Regions from separate parts of the Homo sapiens genome. Here regions 1, 2 and 3 are each linked to region 4. Evidence: promoter capture Hi-C in 16 types of primary human blood cells and fetal thymus (Javierre and others, 2016). All regions are on one chromosome and are shown on one strand. The core of a region is centred on a gene start or on the middle of the fragment in contact, and the rest is flanking DNA. Distances in the headings are between cores, read along the strand shown.

Region 1 (6,063 bases), core at 31-2,530, 2.0 Mb before region 4:
CGAGCCGAATGGGGAGAGAACATGGGGCATTGCTATTGGGTTCACAGCTGTCTTGGGCTAATCAGGGCAAAGCGTAGCACTATGACCTATGCAGAGTTAGCTCGCCAGGGACAGTAGCTATTCTAGAGAACCTTTTGCTTTTAGCTTTGTATTCTAGGATTGGGTGAGGTGAGGGATGCGGGCGCCCATCCCACGTGTGACAGTGGGAAACTAATGGAATTCAGGGAGTTCACTTCCCGGCTCGCACTCCGGGGGCGGGAGGGTGCTGCCACCGCCTCAGGTCGCGCGCTCCTTAGGCTTCCCTCTCACGGTTAGCGCTACGGCTCCAAGGCTGGCGCCTGCTCTTCTTCATCTCCCTCCCCGGCCCTTGGCAGGAGCCTCGCCCTACATTGGCTCTTCAAGTCCGGGCGTCCCCTTCATGTGGGAGACACAGCCCAGACCATTCCATCGCCCTGGATTCTGCCCGGACCAGCGACCTCGCCGGACTGAAGATTTCTCCAGCAAGATTGTTTTAAATAAAGTTTTTGCCATCAAAAAAAAAAAAAAAAAAAAAAAAGGAGATGGGAAGGAGAAGAGGGAGGCCTAGTCGCCAAATGGTTGGCCAATCCGCCGCGAAGGGGCTGAAGCAGGAAGCGGCGATAGTCGTCGGTAATTGGCTGCGCTGGAAGCCTGTCTGGACTGTACCACCTCAGTAGGAGAGGGGTTGCTGAATTCGAGAAGGTAGCTGCTTGCTTTTGAGTACTTCTAGTACACACACATAATTCTTTTCTTATTTCCGGGGGTTTTTGCTTGGATTCAGTGGGAATACAACAGGACGCAGGAGAAGGGAAGACTCGCCTGGCCATTTCCTCATTCCTGACTCCTGTGCATTAGGCCAATCCTTGTCTCTTAGTTGTCCCCGCAACCCCACGGCCTTACGTGCGCGCTCTCGTCTTCTCGCGTGCGTACGTCGTTGTGTTGCTGCAGCCAATCAGGCCGCGAGGTCGCCGCGGTCGCCAGGGTTCGCGCGCACGCCCCAGATCGGAGTCGGGGTGGGGGCTATGGGTGAATGGGAGAGTGAGCGGGGTTGGGCGCGGCAGCGCGAGCCGCATGAATGAGACAAACGTGCGCCGCGCGAGACGTCGCGCGAGCCCGGACTAGGGAGCCAATGGGAACGCTGGAAGGGTTCGAGACCCGGCACTGAGGGCAACGGCCGCGCGCCGGCTCCGAGACGAGCGACGCCTGGCGGGAGCGCGCGGCAGCGGGGCGGGCGTGGAGCGTGCGGGGGCCGCGCGCTGCTTCTCTGAGGCAGGACGGCACTGCCGGGAGGCGGCGGTGACAACGACGGCGGTGGTGACGGGCACCGGGCTCGCGGGTGAGTGCGGAGGACACCGGTCCCTGCGGAACCGGAAGTGCCGTACCAGCGAGGTGGGAGGGGAGGGTGACCTCTAGGGAAGGGGGACCGAAGACGGGGAGGGTATTAAGGCCCTATTTCTCCTCCGGGCCGGGTCTTCCAACCGCGGCGGGACCCATGGGCCTTGGAAACGGACGACGAGTAGAGGCCGGGGATCCACGACCGCCAGGGCTCGGAACGGGTTAGAGACGGCCACTCAGCTCGAGACCGCGGTCCCCGGTGCCTGGCGCCCAGCCGCCGCCCCTTCCGCCCCCGGCCCTGCGCCCTCGGGCTCTGCGGTCCCCGCAGCCCGCTCTCTCAACCTCGGTGGGCCTGGCCGCCGTGGATTCCTTCTTTTCGGTTTCAGCGGTCGTCAGCCCTGCCCCAACGGGTGATTCTCCTTTCCCCAGTCCCGTGGTGGGGACCGGGTGCTGTTTCCCTTTTACCGCTCTGCGGTTCGAGTCCCTCGCTCCACTCTGCTGATACTTATTTTGGCTCAAGCTTCATCCTGTTACCTGTTCTCTCTCACCCGTCCGCTTCCTCCTCCTACCGCCACCAGCCGAGTGCTCCATGCGTTTAGTACTTTGTACTTTTTAAAGTGGAGCCCGAATGCGTTTGTCAATATTTTACCTATATTTGGGGCAGGCAGGTGGAAAGTGTTTTACCCACTTGGCCAAATGAAACACTGAAATAAGAAGTAAGAAAGTTGCTAAAAGTTAGGAAGGCAGTTGTAGGATCACATATACGTTATACGCTAGACTATTTTTTGCCTTGGATTCTTCACTTCCTGGTTAATGCCATCTTGACCAAGTTGATCTAACATTTGCATATCATCCTTCTATCTCAGTATACCTCTGTCCTGGATCAAATATCTTCAGAATGCTCATTATCACCCATTGTATAAACTTAATGTTTACAAAATTATATTGCCATGTATTTTGCTACCTCGGTATATAATGATAACACCCACATTAAACTTCTTGGCTCTTTCTCCCATACCTTGACATGTGAATTATTCCATGGTACCTCCATTACTGTGCATTTAGATTTACTCTATTGTACTGTTACACCGCTTATTTCAACAAAAAATAGTTGTGTTGTCCTTGGTACTGCTGGTATCCACCTATTTAAGGAAATACCTGTATTAAACCTTATTAAAGCCTTCAAACCACATATCCTGTATTGTTTGTTTTACATATACATATTTCCATTTCATAGTTTACTCTGTGCCTCAATATGGCATACATATTACTTTTTTTCTCATTTTTGAGACGGAGTCTGGCTCTGTCGCCCAGGCTGGAGTGCAGTGGCTGCTATCTTGGCTCACTGCAACTTCCACCTCCCGGGTTCAAGCGATTCTCGTGTCTCAGCCTCCCTAGTAGCTGGGATTTCAGGCATGCCCCATCACGCCCTGCTCATTTGTTTGTATTTTTAGTAGAGACAGGGTTTTGGTATGTTGGCCAGGCTGGTCTCGAACTCCTGACCTCAAATGATCCGCCCGCCTCGGCCTCCCAAAGTGCTGGGATTACAGGCGTGAGCCCCCGTGCCCAGCTGGCATACATATTCTTGTATACTTTTTTGATACTAGTATGGATTCAAACTGTTGACTCTGATGAACCATACTCACCCTTGTGGTTTCATCCTAGTATCTGCAGCACATTCTTTTGCTAAGAATTGGTTCATCTTTATTTATACCCAATAAATTGTTAGGTTTTTGATTTCCCTTCTACTGTGTAGCCCCCAAGCATCTCAGATGCTGTTCTCTTTTGTGTTCCCAGTATTATACTCCCAAAATTGCATGGCCTTTCATGACTCTGTATTACTATGTCAATATTAGTCCATGTGACTTTTTTCCTGTGGAAAATATATGAAACAATATATAGTATCTAAATGATATTCTACTCTAGATAAAATTTAAGTAGTATAATTTTCCATCTTTTCTAGTCTTTGGGATTTTGAGGGAAAAGTTTGCTTTAATAGTACATATTGGCTGGGCAGAGTGTCTCACACCTGTAATCCCAGCACTTTGGGTGAGGAGGCAGATCACCTGGAGGTCAGGAGTTCGAGACCAGCCTGGGCAACATGGTGAAACCCCATCTCTACTAAAAATACAAAATTAGCTGGGTGTGGTGGTGCCCTCCTGTAATCCCAGCTGCTCGGGAGGCTGAGACAGGAGAATTGCTTGAATCCGGGACTCGGAGGTTGCAGTGAGCTGAGATCACACCATGCACTTCAGCCTGGGTGACAGAGGGAAACTGTGTTTCAAAAAAAAAAAAAAAGTACATATTGTCTACAAATCAAGAGTTTGCTTTTGTTAACAAAGTTACTGAGGCCTACATTCCAAATGTTAGGCTTCCATTCCTGTAGGAAACTGAGAGTTAAATAATCATTAAATCAGGGACTAGAGAGGATTTATGTTTTCTAGGACTATAACAGTTTCTTAGAATCTTTTGGCGCTCACTGTATTCTAATACTGCTGTTTGGCCCTCTGAAACCCTAATTTTAAAGAGAGAAATGAATCGTAAGGGAAGGCACCTTTGCCTTCCATGCCATAGGTGAGAGAGGAAGTGGTACATTATAGGGCACATTTATATTTTGTTATCTGAATCTTCTGATTTTTTTTTTTTTTTTTTTGAGACAGAGTCTTGCTCTGTTGCCCAGGCTGTAGTGCAGTGGCTCACTGCAACCTCCGCCTCCTGGGTTCAAGTGATTCTCCTGCCTCAGCCTCCTGAGTAGCTGGGACTACAGGCGCCCGCCCGGCTAATTTTTGTATTTTTAGTAGAGAAGGGAATAAAACTACTTTCTTTTAAAATTCTAACTTAAAATTTTTGGCTTGCAGATTCCAAGTTATCATCTCTGGGCAGGTAGTGGATGAAAAGGTAGAAAGGGTTTGTGTCACCAGAGGGGCATGTGACCTCTTGAGTTCTGAACCTGAGGTGATTCAGTGGAATGTCCTCGGGCATTCTGTAGCCTTCAATTTTAAAGAGTGGGATAAGGGACTGCGTCACCAGATAATGTGAGTAAAGTGCTTTTAGATCACCAGATGAAAAGCATTTTATAAAATCCCAAGGTGCTGGTGTTAGTTTGTTATTGTCATCAACAGAAATAATTGTTACTTTTAATCATATTGGGGCAGGTGGGGCTCAGTTACCTTAGGCCAATATAGGAATAATAAACTGTTGAATTGGGAAAAAAGAACCAACCCTATGCTATGCTTATTCAGTTTCTCATAGAGGGCATCATGGCTTTCTCTGCAAGAACATTTCTTACCCAGTGTTCTAATGGGTGATTCCAAAAGACCAAAAATTCAGCTTCTACCTCTTCAGGATTGTAACTAAAAAGCATAGAGGAGCAAAAGAAACACACAGAGAAAGAAAATGAGACTTGCTTTCCTAATTTTGAGGTTAATTTTTTTCTTTTTTCACTATAACAATAAACACTCTTCTTGTCCAAAGAGAAATCTTTGTTCTAGGACTGCCCTTCACTGCTGTGCCCTTGTTTGTGATTTTGATATTCTTGGTATTTGTTACTACCATCTATGTCAGGTGAGATGGGCCCCTTACAAGAGCTAGTCCTTTGATGTCCTTTGGCCAGGTGAAGCCATGTTCTGCTTCCAATCTGAACAGAGCAAAGGATTCTCAAGTCAGTTTTCCTCTGAATTCAGAGTCCCTTCTTACCCACATACATGTAAGTGAAATGGAAAACAGTCTTTCTTTCAGAAAGTACTTTTTAACAGCAGCCTGTGGAATTTTAGCCTTGGTGTCTAAGAAATACCCTGAAAGAATTCTCTGATAAAGATACTTGTTTTTCTCCAGGTGAGACACAGTAACCTGGTTGAACTCTGCATCTGGAAAGCTGAAGACTGAAGAAAGATAAGAGACATTGACTAGTCTGGAAACAGGGACATCTTTGGAACTTCGTTTTCATCCACAGTAAACTTTTGAAGTGTCATCAATTGGAATTGATTTCTTCATCTTATTCTGCCTATTGGGAAGAACATGGCTTCAAGGATTTTAAGTTTCCCTTTAGTTTTACATGAACTTTGTAGGAAACAGAGCCCTTAAAGGGCTTGGGAATAACAAGAAGAGATTGAAGACAGAGAAGCTTGCCCTGTTTTCCTTGCCCCTTCAAAGAAAAGGATTTACAGCTCAAACTTAGAACAGCTGTTGTCCAGCTTTAGCCATCAAGAGAGAAATAAATTAAACCACCATTGCCAGACTACAAGCCCTGGTGAAGTCAGGGTGTGGGAGTGGTGGCATTGAGAAGACTACCTAAAAGAGACAAAGACTGCAGTAAACAAAGCTCCTCTTTAAAGTTGGAAGGGGCCTCAGGTTCCTTCTTGGATTGAAATAGAAATAGAAACACAGGGCACACCTCTTTTAGGTGCAGCTCACATTTTATGGAACTGTAGTCGTGGAGGTACTATAGTATCTCAGAAGAATTTTTCTTTGCCCAAAGTTTTTTTGCCATACCCTGATATTCTCTCCTTCTTTTGAAGACCTGCCTCCATCCATGAGCTGTATCTTGATCTGTCTGACTGTCCATGTTTTCCACCTGCAACCATTTGCATGTGTACAGCCTACTGTTTGTCTCCAGTTTTTAAACTGTACAAGTTGTGTTTCTTAATCTTCCCTTCTGCCTTGTTCTGGGGAGGTGGTTATTCATCATTTGGAATCACCTTTCCCCCTCCC
Region 2 (6,573 bases), core at 952-3,451, 2.0 Mb before region 4:
AGGTCTTTCTTTTACATGGTCTTTGTTTGCAATACAATTGGTCCTTTATACATTTTGGGGAGGGGGGCAGGAGGTGTAAGGTGAGGGGAGGGAGAGCATGCAGGCAGGTATACAAACCCTGATTCGGTTCTCTCCTGAGGTCAGGGTCCTGTGCTCTGGGACTCTTCACTAGAACTTTATAGATGTTTCCAACAGTACCAAAGCCCTCACGTGTGGCCGCCCATTCTCGCACCTTGGTTCACTCATTCTGGCCCAGAATAAGCACCTGCCTGTCTTCCCAGCCTGTGGGCCCCTTGGTCTTTCTCTCTCCTAGTCTTTACTAACTGTTGCCTTAGCCCTTGGTTAAAGACTTAGGCAGAAAATACATTTTCTTCAGGCAATCTGACAGCTGGAGCCAATGGGAAATGGGTAGCATGTCAGAGGAGCCTGATTCCTGGGCTGGGCAGGGCTGTGTGGTAGGGTGAGAGCAACGGCCACAACGAACAGCAGAAGGGGGACTCTTATTTTTAACAGCTGTGCTTTGGGGCACAAGGCAGAAAATGTTTCTTTCTACCTTCTCCCAGGGGCAGGGACAAACAGCAGTGACTCTGTGGGTGACTGAAGATGAAGTAATTGCTGGGTTCTGATTAGGAATAGAGGAAGATTGCCTTCTGCCCACGCGCCAGCCTCCGAGTGGCTGAAGGTGCTGGAGGCAGAGGATAAGAAGGGAGGTGGCCCCTGTTGGCTCCGATAAGCAGGTGAGCTGCTGCTTTCTCCTTCATAGGGCTTCCCAGCCCACTGTGGGTGGTTAGCCTAAGTCTGGTTCAGAGATGCCAGCTGGGCACTCTGGCAATGCTAGAGCACTAAGCAGAGAAGAGGCAGTGTTGGCTCTGGTTAGCCAGGGCATACAGGCTCTCCTCGTCCTGTCCTCCGCAGTGGCCACAGGCACCCAGCTGTTCCACTCTCTCTGAAGGCCGCCAGGCAGTCTCTCCGCAAAACCTCCATAGAGACTATCTTCAGTTTCAGGTCCTCTCCTCCGGGCTGGGTCCCAGGAAGACACCTTGGGCTGAGTTCAGGGTGACATTGGGCTCCGGCTGCAGGAAACGGGCCCTCCTTGCCAAGAGACCACCTTTCAGTCTCTGCTTCACAGGTTTGCCTTCAACTTTGCCAGCGAGTTCCCCTCTGACATGCACCACCTTGAAACACCTTCTTCAAGGGGCATGGAGAATGGGGCAGCTTGGGTCCCCAATCCTGAGCTCCTTCTCCAGCCTCCGGCCGTCACGCCTCCCTCCCTCTCCCCTAATTCCCAGTCAAGCCAAGGAAAGGCTGCACAGAAGGCCAGAGAATCACAAAGGGGAGTAGGGGTCATTTTTTCACCCATCTCGGATCACAGGGAGAAGCAAGTTGGGCAAATGACTGGAGAAAAAACAAAGGCAAGCCGAGTGCTGGGGAGAGATGTTCCCCTGAAGTGAGACGGGGCTGGACCGTAGGAGAAAGGGGAGAGGGAGGGCTGGCGGGGGCAACTGACAGCTGACAGCAGAGGCGCCGAGGCGGAGGCTGGAGGAACCAGGTGCGAATCTCGTGCTTCTCAGGGGGGAAAAGAAAAGGGGGGGGACACCTGCTCACAATGGATTTTCTCATCTGCTCTGAGGTTTTGGCACCCCCCAGGCTGGTATTCTCAGTATGGTATGGTCCAAATAATTAGCAGCACCGCCAGCTCCCAGGGCAGGCTTTGGGGGTCTGCACCAGCAGCAAAACAATAAACAGTGATGCCTGATGCTGCAGCCAAAGTTGCCGGGAAATAAGTGCGGGAATCGTCAGAGCTTGGAGAGGGATGGAGGAACCGAGAGAGAGGAGCGGAGGCAGCGGGGAGGGGGAAGGGAGGACAAAGGGTGGATGAATAATGCTTTTGCAAAGGGGAGAAAGCAACACGCAGCAGGAGGAGGAAATTTGCAAAGAGAAAAAAATTCATTTGGAGAAGGGCTGCCCCCTCACCTTGAGGTCTGCTCCAGAGATCTCCGTCTATCTCTCTCTCTCTCTCTCAATCTCTCAATCTCTCTGCTCACTCTTCTCTCTTCTCTTTCCGCTCCTTCAATTGGGAAGGGGATGGGGGTGGGTGGGGGGAGGGTAGTTGGGGGCTCAAGACTGGGGCTGCAAAGCTGGCCAGCTGCTGGGGGGGCAGAGGTTGTCTCTCGTTCTGTACCTCGGTCTGTGGGTGAATGTGGCTGTGTGTTGTGGAACTGCATCATAACACTGTGAGTCATCCATCCCCCCCACCCCCCCTCACCTCCCACGTCAGAGCAGGGCTGGGAGACACAGGAGGCGGGTCGGAAGGAAGGGAGGGGGTAGGCATCAAGGGACGGGGCTAGAGGAGTGGGGGCCGAGGGACAAGGCGGCGATGGTGGGCAAGGGGAGAGGCAGGTTGTTAAGGAGGAAGGCAGTGGGGCCAAGGAGATACGAAGAACCTGGGGGAAGGACAGGGCTGGGCAAGGATGCAGTGAGGGTGGCAGGGCTGGAGGAAAGGAGGTGGCAAGGCTGGTGAAGGAAGAGATGGATGCAGAGTGAGGGAGCACACACACATTTAAGATGATACACTTTCCCATTTCAGCTTGGACACCAGCCCTGAAGCAGGGAAAAGACAGATGTACTAATTGTCATGGATGGCAAACTGTGCCCCCAAACTTGTACCAAGCCTCAAAGCCTTGGTTTAATACTCCTGAAGGAGTAATAGACCCAATGTGACATTTTGCATGCAGGAACCCCTTAACAGCTACCTCCATATTATGCGTGCTTCATGAATGGAGACACCTACGTTATATGAAGTTCTCTATTGGGCTGTAAACTTCCTGAGACAGGCCTTCTGGGAAATTACTCTCTACATCCCAGGACTGCAATGTCCAGTGCAGACCCGTGCATTTAGATGTTTCCAAAATAGCAGTTGTTTCCGCGGCATTATGTTCTGCTGGCCTAGAGGTCTTAGTTCCAGAGGGAGGAATGCTGCCACCAAGAGACACAACAATGATTCCATTAAACTGGAAGTTAAGATTGCCACCTGGCCACTTTGGGCTCTTCTTACTTTTAAGCCAACTTGCTAAGAAGGGAGTTACAGTGTTTGACCCAGACTATCAAGATGAAATCAGTCTACTACTCCACAATGGCGGTAAGGAAGTATGCGTGGAATACAGGAGATCACGTAGGGCGTCTCTTAATATTACCATGCCCTGTGATTAAGGTCAATGGGAAACTGCAACAGCCCAATCCAGGCAGGATGACAAATGGCCCAGACCCTTCAGGAATGAAGGTTTGGGTCACTCCACCAGGTAAAAAAAACATAATCTGCTGAGGTGCTTGCTGAAGGCAAACGGAATTCAGAATGGGTAGTCAAAGAAGGTAGTCATCAATACGAACTATGACCATGTGACCAGCTGCAGAAAATGAGGACTGTAATTGTCATGAGTATTTCCTCCTCCTTTTGTTAGGAACATGTTTGTGCATATATACACTTGTATTAAGAAAATATCTTCATTTTATTTCCTTTCTTTTGCCTTTATCATGTGACATAAGACTTACTGACTTGATATCAGCACTTAAGTGTTGTTAACTCTATGTAATAGCATTTGGGTTGGGGATTGGTGCGTTTCCGGTTGTACAAAGGATAGCTGTATTATGTTAAGCGTAATTATGACCTTATTATTGTCTTTATTTGAAGATCATGTATGATTTCAGGAGACGTGTATGGGTTCAAGTTGACAAGGGGTGGACTGGTGATGGTTAATATTGTCAACTAGATTGGATTGAAAGATGCAAAGTATTGTTCCTGGGTGTGTCTGTGAGGGTATTGCCAAAGGCGATTAACATTTGAGTCAATGGACTAGGAAAGGCAGACCCACCTCAATCTGGATGGGCACAATGTAATCAACTGTCAGCTAGGCCAGAATAAAAGCAGACAGAAGAACGTGGAAAGACCAGACTGGTTTAGCCTCTGAGCCTACGTCTTTCTCCCATGCTGGACGCTTCCTGCCCTCGAATATTGAACTCCAAGGTCTTCAACTTTGGGATTCGGACTGGCTTCCTTGCCCCTCAGCTTGCAGGCAGCCTACTGTGGGACCTCATCTGGTGATCATCTGAGTCAATATTCCGTAATAACTCTGATTTATATATACATCTATCCTATTAGTTCTATCCCGCTAGAGAACTCTGATTAATAGAGCAGTTGAGTTGCATCTTCAGACATGAACCAAGTGTCTGGCTTTGGTCTCAAAGAGACTGAATTAGACTCTTAGCTCTGCCAATTACTTGGCAGGAACCACTAGGCAAATTACTGATAATCTTTGTGCCTTAGTCTTACTCTTCTGCTAAATGAAGCTAATAATATTTATTATTATTAGCTCATGGAGATGCAGAATAAAGTGAGATAACATTTAAATGCCTGAAAAATGCCTGGCACATGATAGGCAGTAAACAGTAGTGTCATTTCAAAACAACATTCTCGCCAGGTGCGGTGGTTCACGCCTGTAATCCCAGCACTTTGGGAGGCCGAGGCAGGCAGATCACAAGGTCAGGAGATCGAGACCATCCTGGCCAACATGGTGAAATCCCCATCCCTAATAAATAACAAAAATTAGCTGGACATGGTGGCACGTGCCTGTAATCCCAGCTACTCGAGAGCCTGAGGCAGGAGAATCGCTTGAACAGGAAGTCAGAGGTTGCGGTAAGCTGAGATGGCGCCACTGTACTCACAGAGGTTGCAGTGAGCCGATCGCGCCAGCCTGGTGACAGAGCGAGACTCTGTTTCAAAAAAAAAAAAAGCATTCTTGGCTGGGTGAGGTGGCTCACACCTTGTAATCCCAGCACTTTGGGAGGCCGAGGTAGGCGAATCACCTGAGGTTGGGAGTTCGAGACCAGCCTGGACAACGTGGTGAAACCCCCCTCTCTACTAAAAATACAAAAAATTAGCCAGGTGTGATGGCGTATGCCTGTAATCACAGCTACTTGGGAGGCTGAGGCAGAAGAATCGCTTGAACCCAGGAGGCGGAGGTTGCAGTGAGCCAAGATGGGACCACTGCACTCTAGCCTGGGCAACAAAGAGAGACTCCGTCTCAAAAAAAAAAACAAAACCAAAAAAACAAAAGTGAAACCAAAACAGCATTCTCAATGTATGACCCCCAAAACCCAGGGAGGATTTATTATTAAATTCTGATATCTCAAGAGACACATGCCAAATTTTTGTCTTATGAAGACATTACATCTTTTGTTGCTATTTTTCTAGCAGCTTCCAGTTAAATTTCATTTGACTCAGAATTCATTTCTCATGGGGTGCTGTCCTGTGCATGTTACTAAAGTATGTGAACACAGAACATATCCCCTAAGACAAAAACCCTGATTTCTAACAGAGTCTAGCATTTAGCAAATGAAGTACGACAAAGATAGGGACTTCTAGAAAGCAGTGCTTGGGGGTGGTTTGTTTTTCTTCTCACACGTAAAGAGGGAAAAAAAAGTTAAGGCAGAGAAATGTGGGTAATGGGAGACATTGCTAGTTGAGCATGAAAATAAAAAGGGATTCTAAATATTTAATCAGGGAAGATTCTGGGGTTTAAAGTAAATTCTGAAAAGACAATGTGGGTGTCTTGAGGGATAGTACTAGAGATTTGGAATTGAGAGAAAAAGCTAGGTAAAGAAAGAAGAGAGAAGTGCTTTTGTTTGGGCAGCAGAAGAGAGGGGAGATAAAAGTAGAACACATGGACACAGGAAGGGGAACATCACGCACTGGGGCCTGTTGAGGGGTGGGGGGAGGGGAGAGGGATAGCATTAGGAGATATACCTAATGCTAAATGACGAGTTAATGGGTGCAGTACACCAATATGGCACATGTATACATATGTAACAAACCTGCACGTTGTGCACCACATGTACCCTAAAACTTAAAGTATAATAATAATAAAATTTAAAAAAAAAAGAAAAAAAAAGATTTTGAAAAGCAATTGTTGAGGAGAACAATGAGAAGTGGGAAAAGGCAAATGATTAGTTTTCAAGGCATGGATCGAAAGTTCTTTTGTTTTGTTTGTTTGTTTGTTTGTTCTTTGAAATGGAATCTCGCTCTGTTTCCCAGGCTGGAGTGCAATGCCATGATCGAGAATCACTGCAACCTCCGGCTCCCGGGTTCAAGTGATTCTCCCACCTCAGCTTCCTGAGTAGCTGGGATTACAGGCATGTGCCACCATGCCTGGCTAATTTTTGTATTTTTCGTAGAGACGGGATTTCACCATGTTGGTCATGCCGGTCTCGAACTCCTGATCTCAAGTGATCCACCCACCCTGGCCTCCCAAGGTGCTGGGATTACAGGCGTGAGTCACTGGGCCCAGCTCGGATTCAAAGTTTGGAAGCAGGCCGGACACCTGTAATCCCAGCACTTTGGGAGGCTGAGGCGGGCAGATGACCCTGAGGTCAGGGGTTCAAGACCATCCTGGCTAACATGACAAAACTCCTTCTCTACTAAACATACAAAAATTAGCTGGGCATGGCAGCGGGCGCCTGTAATCTCAGCTACTTGGGAGGCTGAGGCGGGAGAATTGCTTGAACCCGGAAGGCGCAGGC
Region 3 (6,126 bases), core at 394-2,893, 2.1 Mb before region 4:
TAGAAACCATTTGTTGAGGACTGGCTACATGCCAGGCATCCTGCTAAGTGCTTTACCTGCATTCTGTTATGCAATGCTTACAATAACCCTAAGAGACATGTATCCCCATTTTACAGATGAGGAAATTAAGGCAAACAGAGGCTCAGTAATTTTCTAAGGATCACACAGAGCTGGGTTATGAAGCCAGGTCATCTGACCTCACAGTCTACACTTAAAAATCCTTCTAATTTATAGCCTTCAGGATAAACCAACCAATCAAGAGAGCTTAAGCCAATAAAAATAGCAGACATTTCACTAAGTGTTGGGCTTGAGGCTAAGGGCTTTCATATATTTTTAGATTTAATATTTATGATGTCCTATGAGGTAGGTATCATTATGTCTTCTTCATAATGAGGAAACCAATTGTCAAACAGTGCAAGTAACATGTCCAATTATACTGCTGGTGATTGGTGGAGCCAGGATTTGTTCCCAAATTTGCCAAATGGTTATGAGCACTAGTTGCAGAATCAGACTGAGGTGCTAGTTCTGGCATTGTTACTGACCAGCTGCCGACCCTAAGGAAGTTACTTAACCTCTAGAATCATCAATTTCCTCATTTTAAGACGGGACTAATAAAATTAACCCACTGGATTATTTTGAAGATTAACAAGTGCCTGACACAGAATAAAGGGTTTTAAAATGTTAACTACTAAATGGGCTGGCTATGTGCTATTTGTCAAGAGGCAAATACTCAGCTTTTCTTGGAACCTAACCAGAGCCTGGATTGGAGTTTCTCTTCCTGCTTGGCTCCTGCATTGCCAGTTCCATCCCCATCTAAATGCCCAACTCATTCTAGTGACCCTTTACTGCATCTACATTAGGATCAACCTTGAAGGTGGGTGTGGGGAGGGTAAGCATGGGCCTCAGGCTCCCCTACATTCAGGAAGGAATTTGTCATAAGTCATTCACCTTCGATAAGGGTGACCAAGACTTATTTTCCAAGACAGGGTAGCACATAGTTCTCTTTACCTGTTGTACATATCGGCCATCATCTCCACCTCCAGCTCCGCAGCCAGCTGTTGGGCCCTGAGAGGATCCATCTCAGCCTAGCACCGTGGAAGGGATCTCCTTCTGGCCTCCTAATCCTGGGAGCAGACATCACCATCAGCACCCACCGCCGCCGTTCACTCTCCTACCCCTGGGGCTAGAGGATACAGAGGACTCACAGGGCGCCAGACCACCACGGGCCACTAACCTCAGTGAGCTTAACCACCCCATTTCACGGATGTGGAAACTGAGGCCTAGCCCAAGGTCGCACAGGACGTCTATGGCGAGCCTGGAAATCGAGCCCCGGATCTCTGATGCCCCAGTTCCTGGAGGTCACCTCTATTCAGGAGATCGAGGACCGGAGGAGAACTCTCTAACCCACGAACCTGAACCTCCAGGGCCCTGGGAATGGGATCATACGCTGAACAGAGGCGACCGGGACCCAGCCCAAAGGCTACACCTCTGAAATGGCGACGCCATCATCAGGGCCACATTGAATTCAGAGGTCATGTGTCACTTACCACTGCCTGGGACGGATCACAATGCCCACGGAGACCCCAACTTCTGACAAATACTATAACGTTACCCGCCTCCCGAGAGGCTCCAGCGGAAGCACGTGGGTTACTTCCGGGAGGAAAGTCCCGCCTCTTCTTTGATTCAAACTCGCTTCCGGAATTAAATACCAACGAGACGGCGCCGGGAACTCGGCGATCATAGAGAGGGAGCGGCTGGCGCCGGGCGAAGAGGAAGGCGACTTGCCAGTGCTAGAGAGGACACCAAAGTACCATAGAAGCTTGGGCGGGGTGCAGAGCGTCTGCAGCCCGATCAGAATTCAAGTCCTTTGGGATGTCACCGAGCGGCTTCAGTTTATTGGTTCTGTAGGAAGAGGCGTGGCGACAGACACCTGTGAACCTCACCCCCGTTCCAGACAGCCGACTCCTGTGCGCAAATCAGGCGTGGAGAAGGAAGAACGCCCCCAAACAGCGGTTCTGTTTTTGTTTCGCGTTAAAATCACCTGGAACGTTTTTAAACATCCCAGTGCCCAGGACTCACCTCATTTCAATTAAATCAGAATCTCTGGGAGTACAGTTTAAAATTCCTCAGGCAGCAATACAATTTAAAATTCCCCAGGTGATTCGTATGTACAGCCAAATTTGAGAAGCAGTGCTCCACGGGACGTTGTGCGATTACTGCTGTGTGTAGGTCACACTAAGCCCCGTCTGGGGTTGCAAAGATAAGCGAGATAGGCTTCCTGTTCGCAGAAAGACAAGACGTGTAAAATATGTTTTCTTCAACAGTTAGAGGTCCTCAGCCACAAAGAGATAATAAAAGCAATTTCGGCTGCCACCAGGGCTAATCTTGGGTGAGGGAAAGAAGGGTACTGGTGAACTTTCCAACTTTCAAGACTTAATGTGTTCTTCAAACTGCACCATTCACTCATTCCCCACTAAAAAGAAGGAAACAAGGAAACAATACTCAGTCCCTTGATTTGTCACACAATTTCCTGGTAAAATAAATTTACAAGATGTAAATTAATGACGCAAGGGCACATTGCCCATTGGAAAAGGTGGGCTAGACATTTTCTGTGTGGTCATCATAAGCTTCCCTAATTGTCCAAGACCATCCTAATTTTAAACAATTGACCTTTCTACTGCTTTGAAGACTCATCTTTGCCAAACTTGTGCCCTGATTTTTAAAGATTGGGGTATAACATTCATAAAGTGCATAAAATACACGAATGTTAAGCTTAATTAAATATATATGTATCTATATATGTACATTTGTATAACCGCCATCCAGATCAAGATATAAAATACTTCCTGCACCCCAAAAAGTTATCTTGTGTTCCTTCCCCATCAATACCCCCTCTCGAAGTTAACCACTATTCTGACCTCTATCACCATCAATTAGTTTTCCTTGTTCTTGAACTTCGTGTAAATGGAATTATACATTATTTTCTATTTTGTGCCTGACTTCTTTAGCTCAATGTACCTGTAAGATTTCCTCCATATTGTTGTGTGCATCTGTTATTCCTTCTGTTTTATTGCTGTCTAGTGTTTGATTGTATGAGTATGCCACAATTCATCTATCCATTCTCCCGTTGGTGGATGTTTGGATTGTTTCCAGTTTTTGCCTATTATGCAATAATGCTGCTATGATACTCTTGTACAGATGGACATATCTTGCCTTGGTTTTTGCCTTTGAAAATATAGTCAACATTGGCCGGGTGCAGTGGCTCACGCCTGTAATCCCAGCACTTTGGGAGGCTGAGGTGGGTGGATCACCTGAGGTCAGGAGTTCGAGACCAGCCTGGCCAACTTGGTGAAACCCCATCTCTACTAAAAATACAAAAAAGTAGCCCGGTGTGGTGACGGGTGCTTGTAATCCCAGCTACTCAAGAGGCTAAGCAGGAGGCTAAGGCAGGAGAAACACTTGAACCCGGGAGGCAGAGGTTGCAGTGAGCCAAGATCGCACCATTGCACTCCAGCCTGGGCAACAAGAGTGAAACTCCGACCCCCCACTCCCCGCAAAAAAGAAACATTATGGAAAGTTAAGAAACTGCGTGGGAAAAGGAGATGGTTTCTTACAAGAGGAATCTTGCAATATCTACTGGGCCTTATGAAAGGTTGCATACTGTATGATTTCATTTAAGTAACATTCTCAAAATCACAAAATTATAGAGATGGAGAAGAGATTTCTGATTGTCTAGTGTTAGGGTTGATGGGGAGATAGAAGTGTACCTGTAAAGGGTAGCACAAGAGAGATCTTTGTGTTGATGGATAATTCTGTATCCTGATTGTGGTGGTGGTTACAAGAATCTACACAGGTGATAAGATGTCATAGAACTGGCAGGGTGCGGTGGCTCACGCCTGTAATCCCAGCACTGTGGGAGGCCCAGGCGAGCGAATCACAAGGTAGGAGTTCGAGACCAGCCTTGTTGGTGAAACTCCGTCTCTACTAAAAATACAAAAAATTAGCTGGGGGTAGTGGCGGGCACCTGTAACCCCAGCTACTCAGGAGCCTGAGGCAGGAGAATCGTTTGAACCCGGGAGGTGGAGGTTGCAGTGAGCCGAGATCGTGCCACTGCACTCCAGCCCAGGCGACAGAGTGAGACTCCGTCTCAAAAAAAAAAAAAAAGCCAGGCGCGGTGGCTCACACCTGTAATCCCAACACTTTGGGAGGCCGAGGCGGGTGGATCACGAGGTCAGGAGATCGAGACCATCCTGGTTAACATGGTGAAACCCCGTCTCTACTAAAATAAAAAAAATCAGCCGGGTGTGGTGGCATGCGCCTATAGTCCCAGCTACTCAGGAGGGCGAGACAGGAGAATCGCTTGAACCCGGGAGGCGGGAGGCAGAAGTTGCAGTGAGCCGAGATTGTGCCACTGCACTCCAGCTTGGGCGACAGAGCAAGACTCGGTCTAAAAAAAAAAAAGAAAGAAAAAAAAAGTCATAGAACTACTACACACACACATTGTACCAATATAAATTATCTGGCTTTGATATTGAATATAGTTATGTTAGATTTAACCTTTAGTGGAAGTTGGTAAAGGGCGTACAGGACCTCTCTGTACTATTAATGCAACTTCCTGTGAAACTATAATTATTTCTAAATAAAAAGTTTTAAAAATCTCTACAAAAAAGAAAACAAATAAGATTATACAAGTATGAGTAAGAGCTGGCCATAAAGAAAGAAAGAAAAATATTTATATAAAAGATTGTGTAAGTAAAGTACCTAGTCCATGGTAGATGCTCAATAAAAATAAATCATTGTTTTCATTCTTTTTCATTTTTAAACTTTCACTGGGGCAAATTTATTTTTATTTTTACTTAGGATTTTTGAGGCAGGATCTTGCCTTGTCACCCAGGCTTGAGTGCAATGGTATGATCAGTGCTCACTGCAATCGTGAACTCCTTGGCTTAAGCAATCCTCTTACCTCAGCCTCCTAAGTAGCTGGAACTAGAGGCATGAGCCACCATGCCTGGCTAATTTTTTTTTTTAAGAGATAGGGTCTCATCATGTTTCCCAGGCTGGTTTCAAACTCCTGGGCTCAAACAATCCTCCTGTCTTGGCCTCTCAAAGTGCTGGGATTACAGGCATGAGCCACCCCATGCCCAGATGGAATATTTAAAACATACAGAAAAGCAGAGAGAACAGGACATTGAGCTTCCATATATTCATCACCAGGACTTAGGAATTGTTAACATTTGTCCATATTTTCTTCATCTATTTTTATCTCTAACAGATAAAGCCCTTTTATTTATTTATTTTTTCCTTGAGACAGGGTCTCTGTCGCTCAGCCTGGAGTGCAGAGACCCAATCATAGCTCACTGTTAGCTTAAACTCCTGGGCTCAAGCAATCCTCCCATCTCAGCCTCCTGAATAGCTAGGACTACAGGCGCAAGCCACCATGCCTGAGTGGTTTTTAAAATTTTTTGTAGAGATAGGGTCTTGCTATGTTGTCCAGGCTGGTTTCAAACTCCTGGCCTCAAGCGATCCTCCTGCCTCAGCCTCCCAAAGCACTGGCATTACAGGCATGAGTCACTGCACTGGGCCCTGCTTAACAAAAAAAATTTTTTTAAACGGAGTCTCGCTCTGTCACCAGACTGGAGGATAGTGGCACGATCTCCGCTCACTACAGCCTCTGCCTCCCAGGTTCAAGGGATTCTCCTGACTCAGCCTCCCAAGTAGCTGGGACTACAGGCGCATGCCACCACACCCAGCTAATTTTTGTGTTTTTAGTAGAGATGGGGTTTCACCATGTTGGCCAGGATGGTCTCAGTCTCCTGACCTCATGATCCACCTGCCTTGGCCTCCCAAAGTGCTTTATACACCGCGCCCGGCCAACAAATTTTTAAGTGCACAAAATAGTATTGTTAACTATATGTACCATATTGTACACAGATTTCTAGAACTTATTCATCTTGCATAACTGAAATTGTATACCCATTGAACAGCAACTCTCCATCTCCCCAGCTGCTCAGCCTCTGGAAAACCATTGCTCTTATTGATGATGATGCTATTGTTATTATGATTATTTACTATGAGACTGTGTCTTTCCTCTATGTGGAGACCTACAGGTAGGAATCTCCAATGGTC
Region 4 (6,049 bases), core at 315-2,814:
GATGAAACAGAAAATTAGGTCTTCAACCACAATAAAATGAACTCTGGAAAAGCTGTGGTATGACAAGTTCAAGTTCTGGCTCCATTCCTACAATCAGTGTGAACATGGGCAACTCAGAAAATTTCTAATTAATTCATCAAATACCTTTTAAGGACCTATTGCGTCTAAGGTTCTGTGCTAGGCTGTAAGGCTCAATGTCTTACATTGTAATGCAGGGACAATACCAACTATGGCAGAGAGTTGTGATGATCAAAGTGGGCAAAGATTACAGATTATCGAACAAAGGCTAGAGGCCACCACATCCTAGGTGTGTTCTATTTTCCCCCTTTACTTCAATCTTACTCAACTGATTTATTCTCCAAGTTTTCCTTTTGGTTTGGTCTTAGATCATTCCTATCAAGTATACCTGTCCTCAATTTTCAAAAATTCAGAATCAGAATTCCATATTCTATCAGTAGGTACGTTTGTGATACACCTTGCCTGGCTACCTCTTAGCTACCCTGTTTACAATGGAAAGATTAGGTCAAAGGGCGTTCTTCTTACCCCAGAGCCCTTCCAAACTCATGCCAATAGGCATGCCACTGCCTCCTTATCAGAGGCAACTTCCAGCAGTACTCCCTTCCAAATCACAAATATCTACTTTACCAAATCGCTGCTTTTTTAAATTAAAAATTCTTAAGGATCATTTACATCAGTTCTTTCATGCTACAAATTCAGAAAGTTTACGTCCAGAGATTAGGAGTCACTCAAGGTCACACAGTGAGTTGGTGACAGGGTCAGTACTGTCTGCTGCTATTGCTACATTCCCGGCACCTTCTCCAAACCCGCGTCTCCCAGCACTAGCCCAGAAGGAACTTCTGCAGGACACGCCCCCCTCCCAACTCGGAGCCCTCTTTAGTAAACGGGCTGGGGCCCTAATCCAACGGCAAGCCCAGGCCCCCTTCACCTGAAGGTAGCCTGTGTGAATGGGATGTGTGTCAGTGTAATTCGAGTGGAGGTGGGTGGGGGGTGGTTCCGGGTCCAGGGCGGGAAACGCGGCTCTGGGAATTCCCGGGTGACACCTACTTAAGAAAAGCACCCGGGGAGATGCAGTGCTCTACCCTCCGTGGCTCCTCTAGGGGTGGGGGCGGGGGTGTGGTCTGGTTACAGCACTTAACGGGCCCTCCCCACCCCAAAACGGAGGCCAACTTTCCCCAGCGGCAACTAATGGGACTGTCTCGACCCATGAAGCCAGCTCCCAGCCCTAGGATTAGACCCGCGACCCCAGACCAGTCGCGTCCAGCTAAGTCCTGCGACTCCCCCAGCCCGCCCCCTGCCCCGCAGGAACACAGGACCGGCGCGCGGAGAGAGAGTGAGGGAGAGGGGCGCGGGAGGGAGGGAGGGGTCACTTCCGGTCGCAACAGCTCACCTCGTAGCGGAACATTCTTGGGGAGGGGGGCAGGGAGCGGGGAGGGGAGAGGGGGAGGGAGGGAAGAAGCGCTGACTCCCCGGCTCCTCCGCGCGCGGGTCCTCCACCGGCTCGCGACCCCTGGCCGCCGCCGTACGCCGGAGCGTGCGTGGGGACGTGCGCAGGCGCGCCTCAGGCAGGGCGGCCACCCCGCTCGGCGCCCGGCGGCGGCGGCTGCGCAGGGACAGATTTGGCGTCCCGCTTCCTAGTCTCAGCGGCGGGAAGGAGGTCCCGTGGCGAGAGACTGCGCACGCGCTGCCCGTCTTCGGCTGCCTGGTGATCTGGGCTTGTAGCTCCGCCCCCTCTTTCTCCGCGCCCTCTAGGCGCTCGGCTTGGAGCTCAGGGGCCGGTCACGAGTTCTCCGTCACCCGTGGGGCGGAGAAAACCCTTGTGATTGTCACAGGATATAGCTTTGAAGAATCCTGCGCTTAGCCTGGGCTGGGAAAGATGAGATTCCCGGGCAGTTTTTCCAACGTCCGACTCACTCCTCAGGCTGCTCGGGGGTCTCCCCGTTGCAATCTGCGCCTTGCGCAGGGAAAAAAGAATGGAAAGTTGCTGGTCTTCGAAAGGGGCGGACTTCGTCGCCACTTTCAGCGGCTCGTCGCCTGCTGAATCCACAGCAGGTCAGGGCTGTGATTTATGTGGCTCAAAGTGATGACGGCGCCCGTTTTTTTTTTTTTTTTTTTTGAAATGCTGAAGACAGGTTCCGGGAGGTTTAACTAGGGTGGTATTTTTAAGCGCCAGGCTCATTAGGCGCGAGGAGCTGCAGAGCCTCGAAGGGCCGCACGGCCGTGGGCCGCTGGCCACGCAGCAGCAGGGTCTTCGGGCCGTGGTGCGCCGCTGGGTGACTCCACTTCCTTAGAGGATCGAACCCACAGAGGAATGTGTCCAGCTTAGAAGCTTCGGCCCCCTGGTTCCAGAATTCTGTTGGGTGGTTTGTTACCTCTAGCACGCTCCATGCCCTTCTTGCCCCTTTCCTTTCAGACAAAACTTGCAGCACAAAGAATGAATTCTTTTGGGTTTCGCAATCCGTTTCTTCCCTGGGCGTCTTAAAATGCAGCCTCGTCTCGGAATGGCATACAGTAAATCCCCTAAATGTTAGTGTGTCTGGATCAGTTTGAGTATCGGAAACGCTGAATTTGTGAAGAAAAGTTCTGGGTGGGAGCTTGTGCTTTGCCACTGGCTAGGAAACTTTGGGCAACTTACCTAAACCTCTCTGAGCCTTAGTTTCTTGTAAAATGGGTATAATTACACCTGCCTCATGATGGTAACACTACTAACGATTGAAGGCTGCCTGGGACTCTGCTAGGCGCTTTATAAAATGGATTATCTCATTGAATCCTTCCTTATGTGCCCCCCATGAGGTAGGTACTGTTATTTTCTCAGTTTACAGTTGAGGAACCTGAGGATTAGCGACATTGTTTGCCTCCAACCACCCAATGGCAAGTGGTAAAGCTAGCAGCTGAGATTTGTCTGATTATTAAAAACCGAGTGTCTTAATCACTGTGCCAGAATAACAAAAGCAAATGTTGACATGGGCCAGGCCTGAACTTTAAAGAAGTGGAGCGTCGGGACAAGATGATTTATTGGTTTTCAAGCATGCATGGAACATTATAAAACATCAAATACTAAGTAACAGGCCAGGCGCGGTGGCTCACGCCTGTAATCCCAGCACTTTGGGAGGCCGAGGTGGGCGGATCACAAGGTCAAGGAGATCTAGACCATCCTGGCTAACAGAGTGACACCCCGTCTCTACTAAAAATACAAAAAATTAGCCGGGCGTGGTGGCGGGCGCCTGTAGTCCCAGCTACTCGAGGGGCTGAGGCAGGAGAATTGCGTGAACCCGGGAGGCGGAGCTTGCAGTGAGCCGAGATCGCACCACTGCACTCTAGCCTGGGTGACAGAGCAAAGACTACGTCTCACAAAAAACAAACAAACAAACAAAAAAAACTAAGTAGCAGTACATCTTAATAATTACCAAAGAATTGGTGCCATGTAGATCAAGGGTTAGCAGACTATGGCCCACAGTCCAATCTGGCCAGCCACCCGTTTTTGTAAAGCAAGCTTTATTGGAATACAGCCAACCTTATTTATTTACATATTGTCTTTGATTGCTTTAATGTTATAAAGTCAGAGTTGAGTGGTTACAATGGATACAGTGTGGCCTGTAAAGTGTAACATATTTACTATTTGGCGCTTTACAGAGTTTGCTGATCCCTGATCTTGCAGATCATGTTTTCTGATCATTATGTAAGATATCAATAGTAAAAACAGATTAGGAAAAAAGTCTTAAGTTTTCAGAAATTAAAAAAGAAAAAAAAAAGTCCTGGCGCGGTGCCTCACGCCTGTAATCCCAGCACTTTGGGAGCCCGAGGCGGGCAGATCACGAGGTCAGGAGATGGAGACCATCCTGGCTAACATGGCGAAACCCTGTCTCTACTAAAAATACTAAAAATACAAAAAAATTAGCCGGGCGTGGTGGCGGGCGCCTGTAGTCCCAGCTACTCGGGAGGCTGAGGCAGGAGAATGGGGTGAACCCAGGAGGCAGAGCTTGAGGTGAGCCGAGTTCGCGCCACTGCACTCTAGCCTGGGTGACAGAGCGAGACTCTGTCTCAAAAAACAACAACAACAACAACAACAACAACAACAAAAACCAAAAAACCCCTCCAATTCAATGACTAAATAATGGAAAGCAGAAAATAGTTACAACTGATGTGGTGGGTGGATTGCATGAGCTCAGGAGTTGGAGACCAGCCTACGCAACATGGCGAAACCGCGACTCTACAAAAAGCACAAAAATTAGCTGGGTTAGTTGTTTTATTAGCTGCTCTGCATTATTTCTGGTCGTGGTGGTGTGCACCTGTGCCTGTAGTCCCAGCAGCTACTCGGGAGACTGAGGACGAAAATAGGGAAGCCTGAATATAAATTAGCTATAAAATAAACCCAAAGAAAGTACAAGGAAAGAAATGCTGTAGAGCAGGAATTAAAGGAGCAGAAAACAAAGTGTCATAGACAGGATCAACAAAATTTCCCATTTCCTCTTATACAACACCTGTCTGTGAGGGAGATTGAAAGTCCCTTTAAAAGAATAATGTATTTTTAGGCGGGTGCTGGTGGTTCACGCCTGTAATCCTAGCACTTTGGGAGGCCGAGGCGGGCGGATCACGAGGTCAGGAGATCGAGACCATCCTGGTTAACACGGTGGAACCCCGTCTCTACTAAAAGTACAAAAATTAGCCAGGCATGGTGGCACCCACCTGTAGTCCCAGCTACTCGGGAGGCTGAGGCAGGAGAATTGCTTGAACCTGGGAGGTGGAGGTTGTGGTGAGCTGAGATCACACCACTGCACTCCAGCCTGGGCAACAGAGGGAGACTCCATCTCAAAAAAAACTATATATATATATATATATATATATATATATATATATATATATATGGTTTTTTTTGTATATATATATATATATATATATATATATATAGTTTTTTTTGAGCTGCTAATAGGCCCATTATTAAGATGGAAAAGGTACAAGTTCTTTTCACAAGTGATTCTTTAGACATAAAGTATGATGTTTCTGGGAACTGTCCCTTGAGTGGGTGGGAGAAGGGAGGTGTCTCCTGCATGCCAAGTACATGGGAAAGGTTATTGACAGCTGAGGAAGGCCATCAATTAGAGAAAGCCACCACACCAGCTTTCTTTGGCATTATCTATGCTTTCTGGAGGCTCTGTAAGCCATTATAGTATTTACAGAGTATACATGTTTCTTTTTTACTTTTTTTTTTTTTTTTTTTTAAACCTGACAAGTTACTTGGGCTAGAGTGCGGTTGCATGATCACAGCTCACTGAGCTTCGACCTCCTGGTCTCATGCGATCCTCTTGTCTCAGCCTCCCAAAGTGCTGGGCTTACAGGCGTGAGCCACCACACCTGGCCTGTTTCTTTTCTAAATGTAAAAAAACATGACGTACAATTTACTTTCTTGTGAGACTGGTTTCAGATATTTTCATCAAGTAACTTACATCTCTAAAACACTGATTCCAAACTTTAACATGCATTTAGAATTGCCAAGATGGCTTGTTGAAACATAGACTACTGGGCCCCATCCCCAGAGTTTCACATTCAGTAGGAGGGAAGTCAGGCCTGAGAATTTGCATTTGTAACAAGTTGCCAGATTATTCCGACGCTACTAGTTCTGTGACTACACTTTGAAACCCCACATTGTCCATTAGTACTTGCAGGGTTATAGAGGGAGAAAAGAGTAGGGTGCTGCACCCAGGGTCATTTCTCATGTAGTGAAAAAAGTTATGACAAACCTCCCAGAAAGTAATGGGACCCCTTAGTGCAACAAATCTTAGGGGAAAAGAATTACCCATATAATAAAAATAACTGTTACAAGGCAAAATTTGTGATGGACTAAACATGGCCACAAATTCTTTGACAGTTCTCCCATTTAATAATTAACTGATTAGTTTTTATTATTTACTTTTCAGAGATGGGGTCTCACTCTGTTGCCCAGGCTGTAGTGCAATGGTGTGATTATAGTTCACAGCAGCCTCAAACCCCTGGGTTCGAGTGATTTTCCTGCCTCATCCTTCTGAATAGCTGG

The links. The method cuts DNA at HindIII sites, captures the fragments that hold promoters and counts their contacts. A CHiCAGO score of 5 or more calls a contact.
Region 1: the fragment with the promoter of ZDHHC5 here is called in contact with the fragment with the promoter of PATL1 in region 4 in 5 of 17 cell types (naive CD8 T cells, non-activated CD4 T cells, fetal thymus and 2 more); the score reaches 9.3 in naive CD8 T cells.
Region 2: a contact is called between the fragment with the promoter of YPEL4 here and the fragment with the promoter of PATL1 in region 4, in 1 of 17 cell types (activated CD4 T cells). The highest score is 5.6, in activated CD4 T cells.
Region 3: a contact is called between the fragment with the promoter of TIMM10 here and the fragment with the promoter of PATL1 in region 4, in 5 of 17 cell types (naive CD8 T cells, total CD8 T cells, non-activated CD4 T cells and 2 more). The highest score is 8.4, in naive CD8 T cells.

Annotation. Positions count from the first base shown.
Region 1 is chr11:57,666,834-57,672,896 of GRCh38, forward strand. ZDHHC5 (zDHHC palmitoyltransferase 5) reads left to right here and starts at 1,281. Exons shown (of 12, transcript NM_015457.3): 1 at 1,281-1,354; 2 at 5,188-6,063. RefSeq lists enhancers at 333-912, 1,082-1,721, 1,722-2,359, 1,913-1,982 and silencers at 1,113-1,352, 1,603-1,802. The HindIII fragment of the contact is 3,116 bases long and covers 1-1,871 here.
Region 2 is chr11:57,647,711-57,654,283 of GRCh38, forward strand. It overlaps YPEL4 (yippee like 4), which reads right to left and starts at 2,202. Exons shown (of 5, transcript NM_145008.3): 1 at 1,975-2,202. MIR130AHG (MIR130A host gene) reads left to right here. Exons shown (of 2, transcript NR_186232.1): 2 at 2,588-5,191. RefSeq lists an enhancer at 574-713. The HindIII fragment of the contact is 14,007 bases long and covers 1-6,573 here.
Region 3 is chr11:57,529,111-57,535,236 of GRCh38, forward strand. It overlaps TIMM10 (translocase of inner mitochondrial membrane 10), which reads right to left and starts at 1,644. Exons shown (of 3, transcript NM_012456.3): 1 at 1,548-1,644; 2 at 1,009-1,124. The coding sequence starts at 1,079. RefSeq lists an enhancer at 1,644-1,823. The HindIII fragment of the contact is 3,024 bases long and covers 1-1,817 here.
Region 4 is chr11:59,667,473-59,673,521 of GRCh38, forward strand. PATL1 (PAT1 homolog 1, processing body mRNA decay factor) reads right to left here and starts at 1,565. Exons shown (of 19, transcript NM_152716.3): 1 at 1,409-1,565. The coding sequence starts at 1,423. PATL1-DT (PATL1 divergent transcript) reads left to right here and starts at 1,838. Exons shown (of 4, transcript NR_187296.1): 1 at 1,838-2,070. RefSeq lists a silencer at 1,295-1,644 and enhancers at 1,604-1,898, 1,825-2,114. The HindIII fragment of the contact is 2,400 bases long and covers 1-2,345 here.